3 separate regions of the Homo sapiens genome follow, and all the other regions are linked to region 3. Evidence: promoter capture Hi-C in 16 types of primary human blood cells and fetal thymus (Javierre and others, 2016). All regions are on one chromosome and are shown on one strand. The core of a region is centred on a gene start or on the middle of the fragment in contact, and the rest is flanking DNA. Distances in the headings are between cores, read along the strand shown.

What was found. The method cuts DNA at HindIII sites, captures the fragments that hold promoters and counts their contacts. A CHiCAGO score of 5 or more calls a contact.
Region 1: a fragment that was not itself captured here is called in contact with the fragment with the promoter of SGPP1 in region 3 in 2 of 17 cell types (fetal thymus and megakaryocytes); the score reaches 5.7 in fetal thymus.
Region 2: a contact is called between a fragment that was not itself captured here and the fragment with the promoter of SGPP1 in region 3, in 1 of 17 cell types (megakaryocytes). The highest score is 5.5, in megakaryocytes.

Annotation. Positions count from the first base shown.
Region 1 is chr14:63,437,790-63,440,489 of GRCh38, reverse strand. The region is part of intron 3 of PPP2R5E (protein phosphatase 2 regulatory subunit B'epsilon); the gene reads left to right. Among named protein-coding and RNA genes, the nearest start is that of PPP2R5E, 100 kb to the left of the region's middle. RefSeq lists a silencer at 2,185-2,479. The HindIII fragment of the contact is 203 bases long and covers 1,204-1,406 here.
Region 2 is chr14:63,380,525-63,383,224 of GRCh38, reverse strand. It overlaps PPP2R5E (protein phosphatase 2 regulatory subunit B'epsilon), which reads left to right. Exons shown (of 14, transcript NM_006246.5): 13 at 1,068-1,169. Among named protein-coding and RNA genes, the nearest start is that of GPHB5, 63 kb to the right of the region's middle. The HindIII fragment of the contact is 480 bases long and covers 1,186-1,665 here.
Region 3 is chr14:63,726,650-63,729,349 of GRCh38, reverse strand. It overlaps SGPP1 (sphingosine-1-phosphate phosphatase 1), which reads left to right and starts at 1,285. Exons shown (of 3, transcript NM_030791.4): 1 at 1,285-2,089. The coding sequence starts at 1,406. RefSeq lists enhancers at 794-983, 1,944-1,993, 1,638-2,139 and silencers at 1,194-1,293, 1,584-1,683. The HindIII fragment of the contact is 15,620 bases long and covers 1-2,700 here.

The DNA.
Region 1 (2,700 bases), core at 56-2,555, 290 kb after region 3:
GTATTTTGCTGCTTCTGACAAGGCCAGACCACATAGTATGCTCTGGGGTTAAATGTTCATTTTTTTTTTTTTTGCTTAAGAACAGTTTCTTCTTCACTCCCTCTCTCCTACCACTTCTGCTGCCCTATATAGTAGCTTTACACTCCCTTTGTGTTATTCTTGAATTGTTAACGCTGCTTCTCAATTTTTCTCTCTACCCTACCACTTATTCCCAGTCTGGAAAAGTAAATAGTGATTGAGGAGGTGAGGAGGAGCCCAGGAGGAAGGCCGTGTATTTCAGAACACCCCTCTCTCTCTTCCACCCAGATAGCAGTCCCCTGAGTTCATGTGCTTTCCCACTCCACTTCTCTCTCTGCCCCACCCTTAGAAGTTCCAAAAATCAGGCTCCTCTGCCCGTTGGTGCTCCTTATGTGGTAACATTGGCGTGGCGATACCTTACCTGTGCATCATAGAGGGGCCCCACCTTGCAGCCCTGTTTGTGTTGAATTGGTAGGACCCACAGAAAACGTATATGGAAATTGAAAGTGCCAGTGTATGAATTCAGAGTGAGAAGGGCACTGCTCAGTGGATAGCTGTTTGTGTGTATTTGAACTGTGCCTTCTCTCCCTGCAGGCAAGCTATGCGAGCTGCCAAGGAATCCTTAGGTTGGTTGGTTAGCCTGAATTCAGAGCAAGGGGAGTTAATTAGATGATTCAAACATCCCTCCATCTCCATGATGGACATCCTAATCCTTGGAAGCACTTATGTGTGTACAGCCTGCTTTTCCTTTTTACTGTCCTTCCTGGGTCAGTGGCATAGACAAACAGACCAGAACCCGGCTGGGCGCGGTGGCTCACGCCTGTAATCCCAGCACTTTGGGAGGCCGAGGAGGGTGGATCACCTGAGGTCCGGAGTTCGAGACCAGCCTGACCAACACGGAGAAACCCCGTCTCTACTAAAAATACAAAATTAGCCAGGCCTGGTGGCGCATGCCTGTAATCCCAGCTACTGTGGAGGCTGAGGCAGGAGAATGGCTTGAACCTGGGAGGTGGAGGTTGTTGTGAGCCGAGATCGTGCCATTGCACTCTAGCCTGGGCAACAAGAGCAAAACTCCGTCTCAAAAAACAGAAACAAAAACAAAAACAAAAAAAAAAAACAGACCAGGACCCAGTCTGGCCACTTACTGAACTATGTGATCCCAGGTGAGTCTCATCCCTCTAAGCTTGTTATTATACTATAACTCTATAAGGTTGTTTTGAAAATTAATTTATGAACAGTGCTTAGCACTGTGGTAAGCATTGTTAAAGTCACCATATCATTATTATCATTATTCATGGTACCATCTCTAGCACCCCAGTAGACTTAACCTGTCTATATTGGTTAATACATTTTTCTGGTTACAATGAAGTCTTGCTAACCTGAAAGCTTTTTTTTGTCTTTTTCAGATGACTTTCCATATCTTTTGTCTGACTATTGATTTCAAACTCTCTATGAAGTTTTATTTTCATACCTTTTTTTTTTGGGAGAACTGCCTGTGAAACTGCATATGCCCCTGTGTTTATAGTTATATATACATTTATATATATACTGCCCTAAGTTCATCTAAATGAATTCCTGATATACTTGCATATTCACGTCCCCAACTCTAGTAATAATTTAGCATTTCTCTCCGCAATCATTCTCTCTTAAGGAATCTGACAAGGATTTTAAAGTGTTTAGTTTTAATTTAAATGTGCTAAAGAGAGGGTTTTTACTCAGGAAGCCACTGAGCTACTCGAGATTGCTATTTGCTTCATTTACAAGCTGTAGTCCTTCTGGCTTAACTGCTTTAAAGGTTGTTCAGAGTTTTTAATATACTTAAAATTGTTTGACAGCTGTGACTTGTCTAGCACTGATATATCCAATAATATCTCACTGTAATGAGTATACTCCCCCTGTCTCTACCCCTCCCCCCAGTGGCTGGCAGCAGAATTTTGCAGGATAAGTTACAGTACTGCATTCAAGTTTTGGTTTCTCTTTTCTCCCACCTTTTAATTTAACCTTGAAGCTGAAAATGTGGTTTAAAGGTATAAGCAATGCTTCTGGGAAATCTATTAAGCACATGGATGACAAAGTGTGAAATCTTGCTTGTGGCATGTGCAAGTGGGTCTTGGATAATCCCAGCTCTTGGTGTTAGTTTGTATGATTTGGCTGTCTCTCTACTGAGGAGACACAGAAATGAAAGAGAGGGATTTATTGGCTGATTGTTTGGAGGAAGCTGGTTACACCACAGTGGTGCATGATGAGCAGGAAAAAGCTGAGAAAATGAGTGTCCTCAATGTGGAATTCACAGAGACAGGAGTGCCTGAGGCAAGAATCTGGCAAGCAGACAATGAGCAGGTCATTTCCAGGAGGCAGTTGGCTGCTGACCAGTATTTAAAGCCAAACTTGATCTGTAGGAAAACAAGAAGAAATATGCTATTCAGTGACTTCTCAGGAGCAAGTTGCCTCTGAAAAATGGTGCAAAGACACTAGACTATAGAGTAGAAATGCCATTTCTGTGATGAGTAGAGAGAGGTGAGGGTTGGCCAAGTAGTGGAGAGGGACAGCTGGTGGGGTCATGGTGAGGAGGGTCAGGAGTGGCACACACAAGGAAAGACATTTCTCAGTAAAAATCAGGCTGGTTATAATTATTTGCTAAGTTGGAGAGCAAGTGTATTTTTTTGACAAAATGGACAAGGA
Region 2 (2,700 bases), core at 176-2,675, 350 kb after region 3:
TTTGCAAAAGGAAAAGCTATTTAGACTCTAGTCTGAAGCTATCAAGCCCATCATAACCTTGTCCTCACATTGCCCAAGAGCTAATTCTTGTTAAGTATGGGCTACCATTTTGGCTGTTTAGCTGTATAGTGTCCCATAGCTAATAGCAACCATCCCAGCTTGCCAGTTATCAGCATATATTTTGGGTCAGCAGGACTGGTGCAGATCAGAGCTAGACAGATAATTCATATTGAACCACCCAACCTACATGAGGGCTTGATTTCATTTCTTTGGATAAGAATAATTTATATATATACACATATATATATAACATTTGTTTCTAGGGAAGTAGCTTCTGATTTTGATGAATTATGTGTTATTTAGAAAATAGAATTCTATGCAAATTCAGATGTCTAAGGTTAGTGCTATCACAGATCCTTATTTTAGGGTGAAATTGCTTTACTATTATACTTGCCTTTTTATTAAATGAAATTATCAAATGCCCACAGGCAGCTCTATTCTGGGTGCCAATAATTAGAAGGGCAGGCCAGGTGTGGTGGCTCACGCCTATAATCCCAGCACTTTGGGAGGCCGAGGCAGGCAGATCACCTGAGGTTGGGAGTTCGAGACCAGCCTGACCAACATGGAGAAACCTCGTCTCTACTAAAAATACAAAATTAGCCAGGTGTGGTGGCTCGCTTCTGTAATCCCAGCTACCCAGGAGACTGAGGCAGGAGAATTGCTTGAACCCAAGAGGCGGAGGTTGCGGTGAGCCAAGATGGTGCCATTGCACTCCAGCCTGGGCAACAAGAGCGAAACTCCGTTGCAAAAAAAAAAAAAAAGAAATTAGAAGGGCAAAGTTAGATTTTTTTTCTAGTTCTACCACCCCTCAGAAAATTATCTTGCCTTGAAATCTCTTGATGTGGAAATGAACTGTAGGTCATTTTCAGTTGTTCCAACTAAAAAAGGATACAGACAGTGTGCAGTACGAGAAATCATTCAGACAAAAGTTGTGCTTTTGCTTTCTTCATTCAGTATCCCATTTTATAAGACTAACTAACACACTCCTTTTTTTCTGTGCTTTCCAGGGCTATTGTGGCGTTGGTGTACAATGTGTTGAAGGCATTTATGGAAATGAACAGCACCATGTTTGACGAGCTGACAGCCACATACAAGTCAGATCGTCAGCGGTAACTTTTTAAAGCTTTTTTGTCAGCTGTGCATAAAGCTATTGAGTTTTTTCCTTGCTCTTTGCTGAAGTTGCCTAATTGTACCCCAAATCTTAAGCAGCACAATTTTGTTTACAGTCATGCATTACTTAACAACCAGTATATGTTCTGAGAAATGCATCCTTAGGCAATTGTATTGTGTGAACATCATAAGTATACAGTAATTACACAAACCTAGATGGTGTAGCCTACTATGACACACCTGAACTATGTAGTATTGCCTGTTCTTCCCAGGCTACAAACCTGTGGTGAATACCGTAGCCAATTGTAACACAAATCACTAGGCAGTAGGCCTTTTTCAACCCTGTTAAAATTTTATGGGACCACCGTGGTATATGTGGTCTGTGTTGACCGAAATGTTGTTATTTGGCACATGACTGTATTTATATATTCATTTTTGCACACTTATTAACTGTGTCTTTATTTATTTATTACTGTGCCACTGAGTAACAAAGCTTCCTGACACTCATTTTGATAAAGCCCGCTTTCTTTCCTTTCTTTAATAATATTTCACTTCTGCCTCAGGGTTAAGAGCCCAGCATTTAACTGGTATTTTAGGTTCACTTAAAGGGACCATCAGGTAGTTTGCTCTCTGGGATTCACTCCCACTCTGAACTTACTTGAAGTATAATTGGGCAGATCTTGTACTTCACTCCAATAGCAGGGGGAATGAGGCACCATTTATCTAGCTCTTGGGCCCAGGACTTACTAGAACCCAACAAATTTATTACAATTTAAAGATCAGTGAAAAGAACATGAAGGTTAATAGTCTGGTATTAACCAGAAATGTTTGAGACCATATGGGAGAACAAACCAGTGGAACTCTTTGCAATAAATGCTTATGGCTTAGTAAAAATCTTGTCCAATGCATTCTACTTTCCAAAAGATGTACTTGGGGAGATTATAGAAGTCTAGAGAGCTCTTAGTAGTTGCGCCTGTGGTTTGGCTTTGATCATCCATAAGCAGATGTCAGCTTTGTATATCATAAAGCTATGGACCTTAGAGGACCCAGAGATGTGTGCGAGTGTTCATACCCAGGGTCTTGCTGAACCTCTCTGGTTCCCTTGGTGCTTTGCTTTGTCTCATTTTTAGTCTGTCAACTTGCATTTTATTGATAAAAAGAGCAATGAGGGGAAAGGTTTGATGGCAGAGGGACCATTGCAATGATTTTTTTGTTTTAAGTTACCAGGGATGTGGTTTATGAAAACCAACTTAATTATGGAATGTGGTGAGTATTTAGCTGAGAATCTCAGAAGAGGCTGGGATTTTTTACCCAGAATATTGGGATTATTATCAATTATGGGATATGTTATTCCATACTCACAGTTTAAACAACTTTTTTTTTTTTGTTTTTTGAGATGGAGTCTTGCTCTGTTGCCCAGGCTGGAGTGCAGTGGCGCGATCTCAGCTCACTGCAAGCTCCGCCTCCCAGGTTCATGCCATTCTCCTGCCTCAGCCTCCTAAGTAGCTGGGACTACAAGCACCCGCCACC
Region 3 (2,700 bases), core at 36-2,535:
TGGCCTCCCAAAGTGTTGGGGTTACAGGCGTGAGCCACTGTGCCCAGCCCTGCCCGGCTAATTTTGTTCATTTTTTGTAGAGGTGGGATCTCCCTATGTTGCCCAGGCTGTTGTCAAACTCCTGGACTCAAGCCATCCTCCCTCCTCGACCTCCCAAAGTGCTGAGATTATAGGCATGAACTACCACGCCTGAAGGAAAGTATTTCTACTGTTTTAAGGGCATGGGACAATTTCAAGCCTGTTTCTTGGAAGTAGTTCACATTCTTTAATTACAGACATTCACCTGATCATGGCGGGTGTGGTGGCTCACGCCTGTAAACACAGCACTTTGAGAGGCCAAGGCAGGAGAATCACTTCAGCCCAGGAGTTGGAGACCAGCCTGGGCAATATAGCGAGACCCTGTCTCATCTCTCTCTCTCTAGGTATATATAAAAGACATTCACCTGACCTGAGGAGTTCAGAGACCTTATAAACTGCTCTAGCTAGAAGTCAAGTTGGTAACTTGTGAGACACGGAAGTTAAGCGTCTAAATTAACGTTACCAAACTCAAAAATCTATACACTGCATTCATTCTCTACATTTATTCTGTGCAAGCCCTCTAGGTATTAGAATCTAGGAAAAGGAAATTTTACACTTAAGAACACCTGTGCTCCCTTAACATATACCAAAATATTTGATAAATGACACAGTATTTTGAATTTGTAGGTGGCTGGCTTTTCTTTTGCAGACCACACCTGTTAATATCACCTGGCCCTGTCTTGGGATCTACATGTAGTCTTGTCACCACTGGTCAATTGGCACATGGTTTTCCGAACATCAGTCGCCTGGGACAGCTCTGTAATTACTTGTTAATTACTTGAGTCGAATGATTCCGAACTCATGGTAGTTGCTTCGCCTTCATTGATCATTCACCATTTGGTTCTGTGCCAGCAGGATGCCCGGCTGCTTGGTCACAGGCATTGCGCAAGCTGGCACCGGGATCGTGGCCTCTTTAAGTCAACTTCTGGCTGAGGGAATCCGGCGACACTAGCCCGCGGAGAAGAAGGGCTGAAGGTGGAGCAGGGGGACACGCCGCGTCCCACCAGACGTACGCCGCGACGCCTGCTGGTGGATATTACCCGGGACCTCAAAGCGGCCGCCCGCCGATCCTCAGCGCCAAGCCACGGCCGGATGCGCTCAGGGCGGACCCGCGCGGCCCGGCCCCTCAGGGAGCCCGGGTGGGGGCGGGGCTGGGCGGGGCGGGGCGCGGCGCGCGCGGGGCGGGGGCGCGCGGCCTGTGGCGCCGTCACCCGGCAGACTCCGGAGGGTAGAGCGCTGTGCCGGTTCCGCTGCCGCTGGCCAGGAGCGCGGGGACAGTTCGGGGCTGCGCCGGAGGCCGGCCCGCCTTCCCGGGGGTTCCGTTATCATGTCGCTGAGGCAGCGCCTGGCCCAGCTGGTTGGCCGTCTGCAGGACCCGCAGAAAGTGGCCCGTTTCCAGCGGCTGTGCGGGGTGGAAGCGCCGCCGCGCCGCTCAGCAGACCGGAGGGAGGATGAGAAAGCGGAGGCGCCTCTCGCCGGAGACCCTCGACTGCGAGGGCGGCAGCCAGGGGCGCCTGGAGGCCCCCAGCCTCCCGGGAGCGACCGCAATCAGTGCCCGGCCAAGCCGGACGGCGGCGGCGCCCCCAACGGCGTGCGGAACGGGCTGGCGGCCGAGCTGGGCCCGGCCTCGCCGCGGCGCGCGGGCGCTCTGCGCCGCAACTCGCTGACGGGCGAGGAGGGCCAGCTGGCCCGCGTGAGCAACTGGCCGCTCTACTGCCTGTTCTGCTTCGGCACGGAGCTGGGCAACGAACTCTTCTACATCCTGTTCTTCCCCTTCTGGATCTGGAACCTGGACCCTCTGGTGGGCCGGAGGCTCGTGGTCATCTGGGTGCTGGTCATGTACCTGGGCCAGTGCACCAAGGACATCATCCGCTGGCCGAGGCCCGCCTCGCCGCCCGTGGTCAAGTTGGAGGTCTTCTACAACTCTGAGTACAGCATGCCCTCCACCCATGCCATGTCCGGCACCGCCATCCCCATTTCTATGGTCCTCCTCACCTATGGCCGCTGGCAGGTAGGGTTCCTTCTCGTCCTGTTCAGCCTGGGGGAGTTCAAAGAACTCGGAGTTCTCTTTGCTCTCTGCATTTATTTTAATTCGACCGTTCCCCTCCAAAGCCTCTCTTTCCACAGGTTTTCACAATACTCGCAAACAGGCCCTTTCTGGGTTTTGAAAAATTAAGTGATTGGGGGAAACTGGATACTTAGCCGTTGAATTCTATTTTAATATTAAATTCCAATTTAATGCCTTAGAACCCAAAGGACACACTTTTCCTAGAGTAATACATTGTCATTGGGCTTTGGTTGAGTTTTTTAAACGGCTTTAATTCTTGTAATGCACAGTGGAAGTGAATTTTTTAAATAATCGCTATGTAAACTAAGACCCAGTTTCACCGTAATATATGGTGCCTTCTTCCCTAAAACTGTTTCAGAAAGAGGTAAAGTCATTAGCTTTACCGTGAGACAGTGTTTACAAAACGTTAGTGTAATTCCAAAACAAACATGCTAGTTCCAAGCAATGAAGTAATCGATTTTCATCGAAGTTCCCTTTATGGAAGTTAATGGAGCACAGGGTGAGTTCTGTTTTTAAGGGGTGTGGTTGCTACTTTGCTGATAAAGTTTGATTAT